Linked DNA regions of Homo sapiens: region 2 is linked to region 1. The links are contacts of gene promoters, found by promoter capture Hi-C in blood cells and fetal thymus (Javierre and others, 2016). All regions are on one chromosome and are shown on one strand. The core of a region is centred on a gene start or on the middle of the fragment in contact, and the rest is flanking DNA. Distances in the headings are between cores, read along the strand shown.

Region 1 (6,095 bases), core at 2,179-4,678:
TGGCATAAAGAAGTAATGATTTTTAAAGATTAAAACATCATTAAATGTAATTTAAAAGGATAAAGTAACACTTAGCTTTTTGGATAACTGTTAAGTCCATTTTTACATAGTGATCCTAAAGATTCAAAATCACAACAAAAACTTGATATAAGCAAGTCCTAAAATTCATTAGGAAAACGGAGAGTCTCCCATGACCATCATGTAACTTAGGATTTATATCAGCACACAGGTGGCAATATGCAGAGCAGACACAAGTGAATCTTGTCCTGCCAGACCTCTGGGGAAGGAGTCTGGATTTTCAAGTAGGGCATGGAAGAGTGTGTATGCATACTTGTAGCCGAGCACATGTATGCAGGCATGAGGTCACGCCTACTCCACAAATGTCCTTCCAAAGGAGTGTGAGGAAATGTCTGGCCTATAAAGCTAGTTATCCTCATATATACCAGTAGAAACGGACCCAAGCCCAGCCCCTTGGCACTCCTGCTGAAGCAATTTGATTTTTCAGTTCAGTTTTATTTTACCTGAGTGGAAAAATCTGTGGCTGTCTCCCTCCCTGCTTGGTAACTAATAAGGATCTACCTAAAGCAGATATGCTGGACCGTCAGGCAATGGGAGCTGCAACGCCTCTTATTAGCCAAGCGAACCCAGGTAACTTACTCCCCTATCAACAAGGTGTGTGTGTGTGTGTTTAGTAGACAGGAACTTGCTCTGTCATCCAGGTTGGAGCGCAGTGGCAGTGGAGCGCAGTTCACTGCAGCCTCCAACCCCTGGACTAGAGCAATCCTCCCACCTCAGCCTCCCAAGGAGCTCAGACTGCAAGTGATATGGTTTGGCTCTATGCCCCCACCCAAATCTTACCTCGAATTGTAATATAATTCCCATGTGTTAAGGGCGGGACCAGTGGAGGTAACTGAATCATGGGGGCAGTCTCCCCCATGCTGTTCTCGTGATAATGAGTGAGCCTCATGACATCTGATGGTTTTATAAGCCACTGGCATTTCCCCTGCTTGCATCTATTCTCTCTCCTGCTGCCCCGTGAAGAGATGCCTTCTGCCATGCAGAACTGTGAGTCAATTAAACCTCTTCACTTTATAAATTACCTAGTCTCGGGCAGTTCTTTATAGCAGCATGAGAACAGACTAATACAATAAACACGAGCCAAGAAGCCTGGCTAATTTTTAAATTTTCTGTAGAGACAGCCTCTCGTTATGTTTCTGAGGCTGGTCTCAAACACCTGACCTCAGGCAATCCTTCCACCTCAGCCTCCCAAAGTGCTGGGATTACAGGCGTGAGCTTCCGCACCCTGCCACAGTTGGTTCTTAAGGCTGGTTGAGCTAGTACATATGTAGCACCTGGCACAGAAGAGGTGAATTAATAAGCTCATGTTTGGGCTGGCCAGGTGGCTCACGCCTGTAATCCCAGCACTTTCGGAGGCCAAGGTGGGCGGATTGCCTGAGCTCCGGAGTTCAAGACCAGCCTGGGCAACATGGTGAAACCTTGTCTCTACTAAAATACAAAAAAAAATTAGCAGGGCATGGTGGTGTGCACCTGTAGTCCCAACTACTCGTGAGGCTGAGGCAGGGGAATTGCTTGAACCCAGGAGGCGGAGGTTGCAGTGAGCTGAGATCGCGCCACTGTACTCCAGCCTGGGAGACAGAGAGAGACTCTGTCTCTAAAAAAAAAAAACAATGAATAAATAAGCTCATGTTCACAAATCTGGAGTCAGTCTCATCTACTCACAAAACCTGTTACCAACTCAGGGAGTGGCATGGCCATCTCCCAGTCACTGAGCTCAAATCTCAGATTTAGGGTTGATTCCTTCCACTCCATCCCAAGACCTGCTCCTTCCTGTCTCCAACATTCTACCTTCCCAGTCCAGCCTCTGCTGCCCACAGATTGGACCACATCAATCTCCTGTGCAAAAATCCTATGATCTGTCCATTCCTAGGCAGATTTCCACCCCACCCCATCTTCATCCATCAACAAAGCAACCCAGTCACCAAATCATTTACTGTTTTTCAACTGTGCCCAACATTTCTGCTTTGCTCCAGCTACTCGCCCTTGGAAACAGCCTCTCCACAAATTTTTGCGTCTCTAAATCCTATAGCATTCAAAGCTATGTACAAAAGCCCCTTCTTTCATAAAGTTGTCTGAGACTTACTCACAATTAAGCTTTCTTTGACTTGCGTCTCACTGAATTCTGTACCTCTATTAGAGCATCGGTTCCAGTTTTCCTTGTAAAGCTCTGTGATGCCTCCAGAGTCCCCGGCGGGGGAAGGTGGGTGGGGAGGGGGTAGAGTAGTGGGGTATTTTGCTTTTTAACATCTTATGGACCTTGGACAGTGCCCTGCATATACTATGTGCTCGAAACAGTTTGTTGAATTGAAATTATGTATATTTCAGACGGAATTAGAAAGTAAAAAGCAAACCATATTATGATCTCACAAGTGTGAGTCCAGCATCCTCATTAAGCAATGGTTGCACAATGGACTGTGCTGGAGGCTCAAGTCCTGTTTCTGTTCTATGAAAATAACTCCTTATCTATACAAACAACATTCAAAGCACAATCAACCACACCTCTGCATACCTACCACAGAACTCTTCAGTACCGGCCAGAAATTTTTTTAAGACTATATTATTTTGGGGTGGGGGGTCTGCAAAAACTAAACATCACTTTTAAACTCTAGGAAGACATTAAGCCCTTCCATCTTTGAACATAGAAACATAATTAAGATTCCGAAGTCATGTACTCATTCATCTGATTCCATGAACATTTACTGACCTGCCACCTTGTGCCCCAACAAGGGCCTGGGGATTCAACCAAAGGAGCAGCTACGCACAGCACGTTAGGTGCCAAGACTGTCGAGGTTATATACACAGAGTGCGAACGTTAACCTAGACAGCTCTCGAGGATGGCATACAGCAAATGAAACTTTCTGCGAAAAGAAGAAAACGTGACTGATGGAAAGGGGTGGAAACGGGAGAAAGTGACGGTAAATGGGAAGGTGCAGTGCCTTCTAGAGGAAAATTATATTTCACAAGTCCTCTTCACTGCCAGAGCACGACTGGCAAGGACAATCGTGCTGAGCAGTGCCATCTCCGAGAACAGGTGGCACTGCTCGCACTTGGAATACTCAGGACGCGTTCTTCCTCTGGGATCACTATTCGCGGGTCAGCACAGACGGCCCGTCCTCGCCCGGCGTCCAACTGCACGGCCCGAGGACTCTGTCCCTGCGCGTCCCACCCCCGGCACCCGGAACCTCACGGCCACTCACTCTGCGCGCAGGATCCGGAAGGGCTAGGCGGGGGCGCGGCGGTGCAGCCTCTCCCGAGCGCGCTGGGTCGCCTCTGCTCGGTCTGGGGTCTGCCAGGCGCGATCCCCCCGGTGCAGCCGAGCCCCTCCGCAGACTCTGCGCAGGAAAGCGAAACTACCCGGCAGGAGAAAAGGCAGCGCTGGCGCCCGGCCCCCTTCCGCCCCCACCAATCACCGGGCGGCTCCGCGCTCAGCCAATTAGACGCGGCTGTTCCGTGGGCGCCACCGCCTCCCTCTGCGGGCCGCTGCTCCGCCCACGCGCTGGGGTATTTCCGCCGGCTTCCGGCGGGGGCCGCCGGCTGGGTGAGCTGCAGCCCAGTCCCGTGTTGCCACGCTGGGAACTGGCGTTCTGTTTACATATCTTAGAGAACGATCAGAAGGACGTGCTGTGTTTGCAGAAGCCCAAACTTGGAGGTCTCTGTAGTAGTTTCATCGCCGAGAATCCAGGCAGAGGACAGATTTGGCGACGTCGTCATTCTAGAAGCTCCCTTTAGCAACTGACCTCCGTGTTGCTAAACCCAGGGAACGCTTTTCTGTTTTTCTCACTTTACTTGACAGCTCGGAAGCATGGGGCAGAGTTGACGCCTTTGTTCTTGAAACACGTTTCTTCCTTGGTCATGATGATAACACATCCTTCTTGCTTTTTCCTGCCTCTGGCATTCTTTCTACATTGCCTCCACCTCCACTATCAAACCATTATATGTTAAGGTTGTCAGGGTCCAGACATTCGTCAGCTTCTTTACCTGGGCTTCTCCTAAACGCTGTGCTGTGATGACCTCACCCACAGCTTCAGTTTCCTTCTAGATGGAGGAGTCTTAAATGCTTATCCCGTCCACACCTCTCCTCTGGGCTTCACACCTACAACTCCCACTTGCCTCTCCACTTGTATGTGCAGTGAGCTCTACAAACTATGTTCAGAACCAAACATCTTTCTCCTCAAACCTGCTCTTTTTCTAGAAATGGCACATGACAGATACCTAGGATTCATAGTTGACATTGCCTTCTCCCTCACCTCGCAACACCTGATCCTCAAATCTTAATTGATTCTTCCTCCTAAATATTTCCCAAGTCTCATTTACTCTGCTCCATCTCTTCTGCTGCCTCCTTCTGCAGTAGATTCCCGAATGGCTGCCTCACTTCAGCCCTTATCTACCTTTTAATCCATTCTCCATACAAGAGTTTGAGTGTTTTTTTTTTTAATTGAAAAGCAGATCATGTCATTTGCCAACCTGAAAATCCTTCCATGGCTTTTCTTTGCTCTTATAAAATTCAGTTTCTTAATACATACTATAAAGCCCTGGTTGCCCGATCTCTTTGTCCAACCCCATAATGTGCCACTCTGCTTTGCTTACTTCAGCATTTAGTTCTTCAAATAAACCACACTCTCCAAACTCAGGGACTTCTCACCCTGAGTTTGGAAAACCCCTTGAGCCAACATCTGCTTCACCCAACTCTTCGCTGGCTAACTCATCTTTTAGATCTTAGTTTAAAAATCTCAGCTTAAATGTCACTTCTCCAGGTAGGCATTGCTGAAGCCAGACAAACTAAATCTTTTTGGACTATATGCTCATAAAATCAATTAGTTCCTTCAAGTAGACGGGATTTGAGTCAAGCCTTGAATAATTAGGCACTTTGGGGTAGGAGAAGGATCTGAATAATTTCCCATGGATATGCCTATATGTGTGTGTATGAGTTTTTTTTCTTTGCACATCTATTTGTTCTTCTTGTCACAAATGCACCCTCACAAAGCAAGTTAGCAGTGAAATTAGACTTCTCTGCCAAGAGATGCCACGGCACCAAAAGTGTCCCTTCTGCTCTTACTCACCCAAGAACCAAGACAATGTTTTACTGTTCTCTGAAAAAAGCTGTATTAATCCATTTTTAACGCTGCTAATAAAGACCTGAGACTGGGCAATTTACAAAATAAAGAGGTTTAATGGACTTACAGTTCCACATGGCTGGGGAGGCCTCACAATCATGGCGGGAGGCAAGGAGGAACAAGTCACATCTTTCATTGATGGCGGCAGGCAAAGAGCTTGTGCAGGGAAACTCCCATTTTTAAAATGATCGGATCCTCGAGACTCATTCACTATCACAAAAACAGCGCAGGAAAGTCTCGCCCCCATAATTTAATCACCTCCCACCAGTTTCCTCCCATGACAGGTGGGAATTGTGGGAGTTATCATTCAAGATGAGATTTGGGTGGGGACACAGCCAAACTATATCAAAAGTTGACTCTAGGAAGGGTAGATTACATGTTAAAAATTTTTTTTCTGGTACTATAAAACTTGCACAGATATTAGCTTCAATATTGATGAAGGAATGGAATAATCCTAACATCTGCAAATAGGATTATTTGGCACTCCAAATCCCAATTTGGATCATCAAGATCTGTGGATGCTTCCTTCCCTACCCCCCTTTATTTTAGCATCCACAGCAATACCTACCATAAGCCTTCATCACTTGAGAATTGGAATGCTATGCTAATCTCTAGGTATACTACCTTTTTCTTGTCTCTTTCTCCTTCACTATATTTGCCAAATTCAATTCCTTAAAATACTGCATTGATATAGTCATTCCCTGCTCAAAAGCCTTAACAACTCTCCTTGCACATATGATAAACACAAATGTTGTCTGCTAGTCTGGATCCTCCACAAAATGTTTCTTTCCTTCTTTCCAGCCTTTTCTATCATTGTCGCATTTCCCAACTAACCTCGTCTAGCTCCAGCACTCCCCCCATGCTTTTAATTTCCTGATTTCTGCCCCTTTGTACATACTGAAT
Region 2 (6,095 bases), core at 2,428-4,927, 670 kb after region 1:
ATTGAGAACCAAACCTTGGATTGATTTTATAATATTAATTTACCTTTTTCTTAGATATCTAGGATTATTTTATGTAGTGATGCTGTCTGCTTTCAAAATTGTTCGGAGTAAACATTTGCCAGTTTGTTTACTACAAACCCAGCATGGTATTAAAAATCACATGTTTGGAAAGGCAGATAGGTGAAGCTTTGTGACCTTAGTGTTTTTTTTAGCACTTTGAAATTCTACCAGATCTTCGGTAGCTTAGGAATCCTGTGTCTTTTATGGAGGCAGAAGGAAAACTGTTATATCATTATTTGACTAGACTGTAAATGAAACATTAGGATGATTTTACATATCTTGTGGCTGAAAAATAGTTTCTGTTTAAATTTCTGCAATTAAAAGCTTTTGTTTTGTTAATTGACTAAAGATGTGATCATTGGGTATAATAATACTGGCTTTGCGAAAAGACTTATTTTCCAGAATTTGTTATGATTTAGATAATTATGTCAAAATTCGACAGAATTTTTGTATTCTTTTGTAAATAGCAAGTTATCAAAGTTAGATTTATTGTATTTGATTTACTATGGTGGATAGAGAGGGCTTGATCCTCACTTCTACCTTAATACAAAAAATATATAGTGTGAAGATTTACTTGATTTAAATAGAAGAAAATAAATATATTTCTAAAGAATTAATGTTTCTTTTCTCTCTAGGTATGCATCCATGTGGAAAGGATGTCTGACACTTTATACTGGAAGGGGTGGTGAACTTCAAAAAATTGGGGAGTAAGTATTAAAATGCATTTTGTATAATTGCATATATTATAAATAATATCTACGGAATGATTGGTAGGTATGAATTGTAAACCTCTTTGGCTTTTTTGACTAGTAAACTGAATGTCTTTGGTAGCTTAATTGAAAAAATAACTTCGTGTATACAAATTTAACACTTGTCAGTACTGTTTTCTGTGGTTAAAAGTGTCAATTTTTCCTGGCAAAGAGCAGTAGAAGAAGCTGCAGTTGAGACCAGCCCTAGTGGAAGCATTTCTGTAGGTTTTAGAAATGTGCATTTTTTAGGTGTCACAAGAGCCATTTGAAGTAGATTCTCTTTTGTAGTGATTCACCATATACGAAGCTAGTGATTCACCAAGTTTCAGGCCATAAGTTTAAATTTTCTTTTTCTATGGTTATGGGTGAATATGTACTCATGTTAAAAAGGACTTGCAGCAACGAAAACTGAAGTCCTCTATTTATCCACAGTCTAGGTGCGGTGCAGGCAGCCGCAATGCGAGATTCCATACACTACTACCCTGGTAATGATCTCCACCCTGACCTGGAGGAGCCATCCTCTCTAGGGGTGTAAGGTAATTCAGCCTCCATGTTAGCCTAGACATTGGGTTGTATTCATAAAGTATGGTACAGGCAATGAGCCAAATCATCAGTCCATTCTGTTTGGTTAATGCTCTGCCATCTACTTAATGCCTGTCAAATTGGAAGATATTTAAAAAGAGAAGCCACAAATGGCACCAGATAAAAAAGGAAAACTGTTTGCCACTGAGGGAATAAGATGCTTATTTGGAGAACCTGTGGTTAATAATGAAGGAAAAGAAATGATCATGCTAGCTTTTAAAGATCAGAAACACTTAACGCTTTGCCTTTGTTAGAAGGGAAGTTAGGATTCACTTAGAGTAGCATTAATAGAGTTATGTGTTATGAAAGGTCTTAGTGTCTGTTACTGAAAGGTTCAGGATTCTGTCCTGACCTTCATGTATTCATACAGAGGTGTTGATAATAATGGAGGTCAGTTACGTGAAAAACCGTTAGAGGTCACTCATTTCTTAATGACTGCTCTTTGTCAGGGTCAGTCGAGGATTTACCAAAACTGGTTCTGATTTGTCTTCAGTATGGTGAGGAGTAATAAAATGCTTCTTTGTAATGTTAGTACACATTATATGGTCAACTTACAGGAAGCACTTGGATAAACTGGTGGCTATGTAGCCTGTTGTTATTATTTATTGCCTAGAAACCACTCTTAACCCTAAATGATTATCTTTGCAGATCCACAGTGATCGATCAAAAGAGGGACTGAATGGGAGTGGGTGAATGGATCGGTGCAAATCCATTACCACTGCTGGAGAAACCACCCTGGAACCCTAAACATGGTTCACTCTCATGTTATTTTTCCTTTGATCAGCTTTTGTGGAAAAACAGGACAGAGATGTTTTTGTGTCCTTGATTTTTGATGTGATTTTTTTTTCAGCACTAAAGAAGAATTTAAATACAAAATAGAATGTTATATATCTTGTAGACAGTCAAATATTTGATGTTTTATGGGACATAATCATTTGGGAAGTTTTTGTTGTAAATGAAGAGTTAGTTTGTTGCTATTAATTTGTTTGACACATAAGTTCATTCCTAAAAGTTAGAGATGTTACATAAAGAAGGGTTGAGGACTTTATTTCAGAAGTCATTTAATTTTTTCTTTATTTTCTTTCAGATTTTGTATGGTTTATTCAGAAGTGCCAAATTTCAGTGAACCCAACCCAGATTATCGAGGACAGCAGAACAAAGGGGTAATTGTGTAGTATACTTTTATGATTAGGCTAATTTTGACTGTGTTATAATTCTATGATTAGGCTAGCCCTGTTGATACTTAGTATAAAGAAGATAATTTTTAAAAGGATACTTAATTTTTATTGTATGTTTTGTGAGGATATGTATCTGAGGTGTCATCTACTAGATATATGTGCCATTTTGCACTTTGTGGTGTGCTGAGTAATTATCAGGAAATAGGATGTAACAGAGCTCTGAAAGGTTTGGGAAACGTTTCTTAACATTATAACCTTTAATGACCTAGGAAAAATCTTTAAAAAATTTGTTAATTAAAAAAAAAAAAAAAGCCAAACCCAAAACTTTAAAAAAGAAAGGATATAATAATGTTGTAATAATATAATTGTGTTTTTATTCTCGTTTGGTTAAATTAAAAACTTTTTTTTAGGCACAGAGTGAACAGAAGAATAATTCCATGAATAGTAATATGGGTACAGGTACATTTGGACCAGTGGGTAAGATTTTGTTTGTGTGTTTCATTTGTGATCAGGTATAAGAATGAAGAGAGCTGTAAAGATTCACGTGAAAAGCAACGTCTTTAGGCATAAATTAGTGATAAAGGTGAACTACCAGTAAACAGGGAATCCCCAAAGGGCTGATTTTCTAGAAAGTTGATAAACTTAAGCCAGTTTATTGAGAATTCTAAGTTTTTGTGATGTCCGTGAAGAGATACCATGCTATTTTTTTTTTATTGATTCCTATAAAATTTCTATAATCTAGTGATTACTTATAGTAGATGCAGAATTACTGGTTATTTTGGTGCACTGAAAGCGTTTTATCTTTAGAGTCATAGTTCACCTTAATTTTTCACATACAAGTAGCTGCTGCTTTAAAAGATGAGCTGAGCCGTTTAAAGGCTAGTGACCCTCAGATGTCATTTAACATGACCCCCAGACATCATGTTCATGATCCTTGTAGCTCTGTTAAAGGTCTTCTGAAGTCTTTTTTCTTAAATATATGAGGAAAAGTCAGTCTTTTGTGATTAGAGTTCATTAGGATGGCTCATGTTTTGGTTTTGTTTTGTTTTTGAGACAGGGTCTTACGCTGTTGCCCAGACTGGAGTGCAGTGGCGTGATCTTGGCTCATCGCAACCTCCACCTCGCAGGCTCAAGTGATTCTCCTGCCTCAGCCTCCCAAGTAGCTGGGATTACAGATGTGCACCACTACCACCCAGCTAATTTTTATATTTTTAATAGAGATGGGATTTCACCATATGGGCCAGGCTAGTCTCGAACTCCTGACCTCAAATGATCCACCTGCCTCGGCGTCCTAAAGTGCTGGGATTACATACAGGCGTGAGCCACTGAACCTGGCCAGCTCATGTTTTATTTGACTCGAAGGCTACATGTCTTGGCATTGCTGATCACATTGTGGGAAACGCTGCCTTTGCCTTTAAAAAGTTAGAATAACATTGTCTGTTTTGAGATATTAATCATATTTGAGCCAAATTCCAATATTCACTATTTTGCCCTTTCTTTTTCTTTTATAGTGTAGGCAATGCATTTTTTTACTCTATTAATTTCTAATTTTGATGCCCAAGTTGGCTTTTTTCTCTCTATTAATACAGCATCAAGTTAGCATATTTATAGCAATACATTTGGAAAAACTTAGAGCCCACATTGTTTTTTTTTTCTGTATAAAAATAAAAGTGTGTGCTTTAATATTTTTAAGCATTAATAACATGTTGGCACTTAAGATAGTTCTACTTCTATAGACTACCTCTGAAAATAGTGATGAATTTTTGTATTCTTTTTTAGGAAATGGTGTTCACACTGGCCCTGAATCAAGGGAACACCAGTTTTCACATGCTGGCAGAAGCAATGGCCGGGGACTTATAAATCCACAACTACAAGGAACAGCTAGTAATCAAACAGTGATGACCACAATAAGTAATGGCAGGGACCCTCGGAGAGCCTTTAAAAGATGACCTATGCTAAATACTCATGTGTAGTTTTTATACTACATGCCCTACTTGAACACTTATTGCACTTTTATTTATTGTTAACTGTGAAAAGTACGTCCTTTATTGGGTTTCCTTTTATATTCTTGGTTTGTTAAGAAGAATGGTTTGTTTTTATAGCAAAACTGTTAAGCTGCTCGAGTCTCCTGTTGAAGAATGGGAACACTGAAAAGTAGGGGCATTTATTTTTAGAGTAAAAAGATTATTGGATAGCCTTTAAAAAACCTGCACCCATTTCATGGGTGAGTTACTTAAGACATCAGCTTTATAGCCTCTATGAGTCTATCTTCTGTATAAGTTTTGTAATATTTAACATAAGGCTTAATGGGAGATGTTCTTTTGTCTTGTATTCAGATATTGCCAACTAAAGCAATAACCATCAAAAAACACAAGAACTTGTCAATGCTAGCAGTAATTTTTGAGTGTTTGTGGCTCTCGGAATGATTGACTTCGTTCAGTGACTACTATTAAGATTTTCCAAGGACTGACTCATCCCAAATTTTTGTTGTATTACCAAAAAAACAGATTCCTTATCAGAATTTGGAATAGAATGTGATCTCTATTGCAACAAGTAATTTTAAAAGAAAGCTACATTTATTTTAGAGTAGTGCTCCTAACATGTATTATCAACTTTGTGGATTACATTGGAGGAAAATTTAAAACTGGGGCCTTGAATATTTATTTTTTGAAACTACCATGTTAAATACTGAAGTATAATTTGGGGGAGTTATAAAGTTATGATAAACATTCATCTGATTATTTTAAACAATAGTTGTGGTAGATAAACATACTGGAGGTGAGTCAAATTGAATTCATATAGTAACATGCAGTCTGAAGTCCTAGTTACTTAATAGGTACTCAGCCTGGAGTGAAAATCCTGGGTACTGACTTTGAGAGGAGTGAGTGTGCATGTTGTCAAAGTTTCTGAACACAGTTCACATAGCCTTATTAGCAAAAGTTTTAAGAAATGGCTCTATCAAAGAAGCAATTGCAGCTTTATTCAGAAATATAAAAGTGGAATTTATGTACATGTCATAAGTGGTACCCACTTCCCCTTTTTACTGTAGGGTGGATAACTCTTAGGATTTAACTCTTTGAATATTATCTCTTGAATAAAGCATGTGTTAATGTTAACAAACCTACGTAATTTTTGCCCTTTCAATGACTTACAGTGGAGAGCCAGTACATCTTAACTACTGTTGTAGTGATGGTATCAACCTCATGGTTACTTAGCTCTGCATTTGTTGCTTTGTTTTTTTTCCACTTCAAATCACAAAATAAGTAGATTTTGTTTTCTGAAAACTCCATAGCATTTGAATACAAAAAGTTGTGCCAGATTGTTTGCCCTAATTCACTGTGTTTAACAAATATTTCAGTACACACTATGTATTAGGCACTGTGTGGAAAGTGTTAAGGGGTAGACAAAATACCGAATAATCTCCACAAGTTTATTTGTGGTCTATAGTACTTTTGTAACTGGGGTTACAAAAATTATAGAAATTTTTTTCCTTTGTTCATATGCATATTCATGATTATAATTTGGC

What was found. The method cuts DNA at HindIII sites, captures the fragments that hold promoters and counts their contacts. A CHiCAGO score of 5 or more calls a contact.
Region 2: a contact is called between a fragment that was not itself captured here and the fragment with the promoter of STAT1 in region 1, in 1 of 17 cell types (neutrophils). The highest score is 5.1, in neutrophils.

What each region holds. Positions count from the first base shown.
Region 1 is chr2:191,010,743-191,016,837 of GRCh38, forward strand. STAT1 (signal transducer and activator of transcription 1) reads right to left here and starts at 3,429. Exons shown (of 25, transcript NM_007315.4): 1 at 3,276-3,429; 2 at 2,783-2,936. RefSeq lists enhancers at 583-692, 993-1,082, 2,782-3,101, 3,712-3,911, 3,942-4,021 and 3 more and silencers at 3,192-3,391, 3,422-3,661. The HindIII fragment of the contact is 15,587 bases long and covers 2,171-6,095 here.
Region 2 is chr2:191,681,251-191,687,345 of GRCh38, forward strand. It overlaps NABP1 (nucleic acid binding protein 1), which reads left to right. Exons shown (of 6, transcript NM_001031716.5): 3 at 696-767; 4 at 2,479-2,554; 5 at 2,980-3,046; 6 at 4,349-5,693. The coding sequence ends at 4,518. LOC124900605 (a long non-coding RNA gene) reads left to right here and starts at 6,036. Exons shown (of 3, transcript XR_007088697.1): 1 at 6,036-6,095. The HindIII fragment of the contact is 6,591 bases long and covers 383-6,095 here.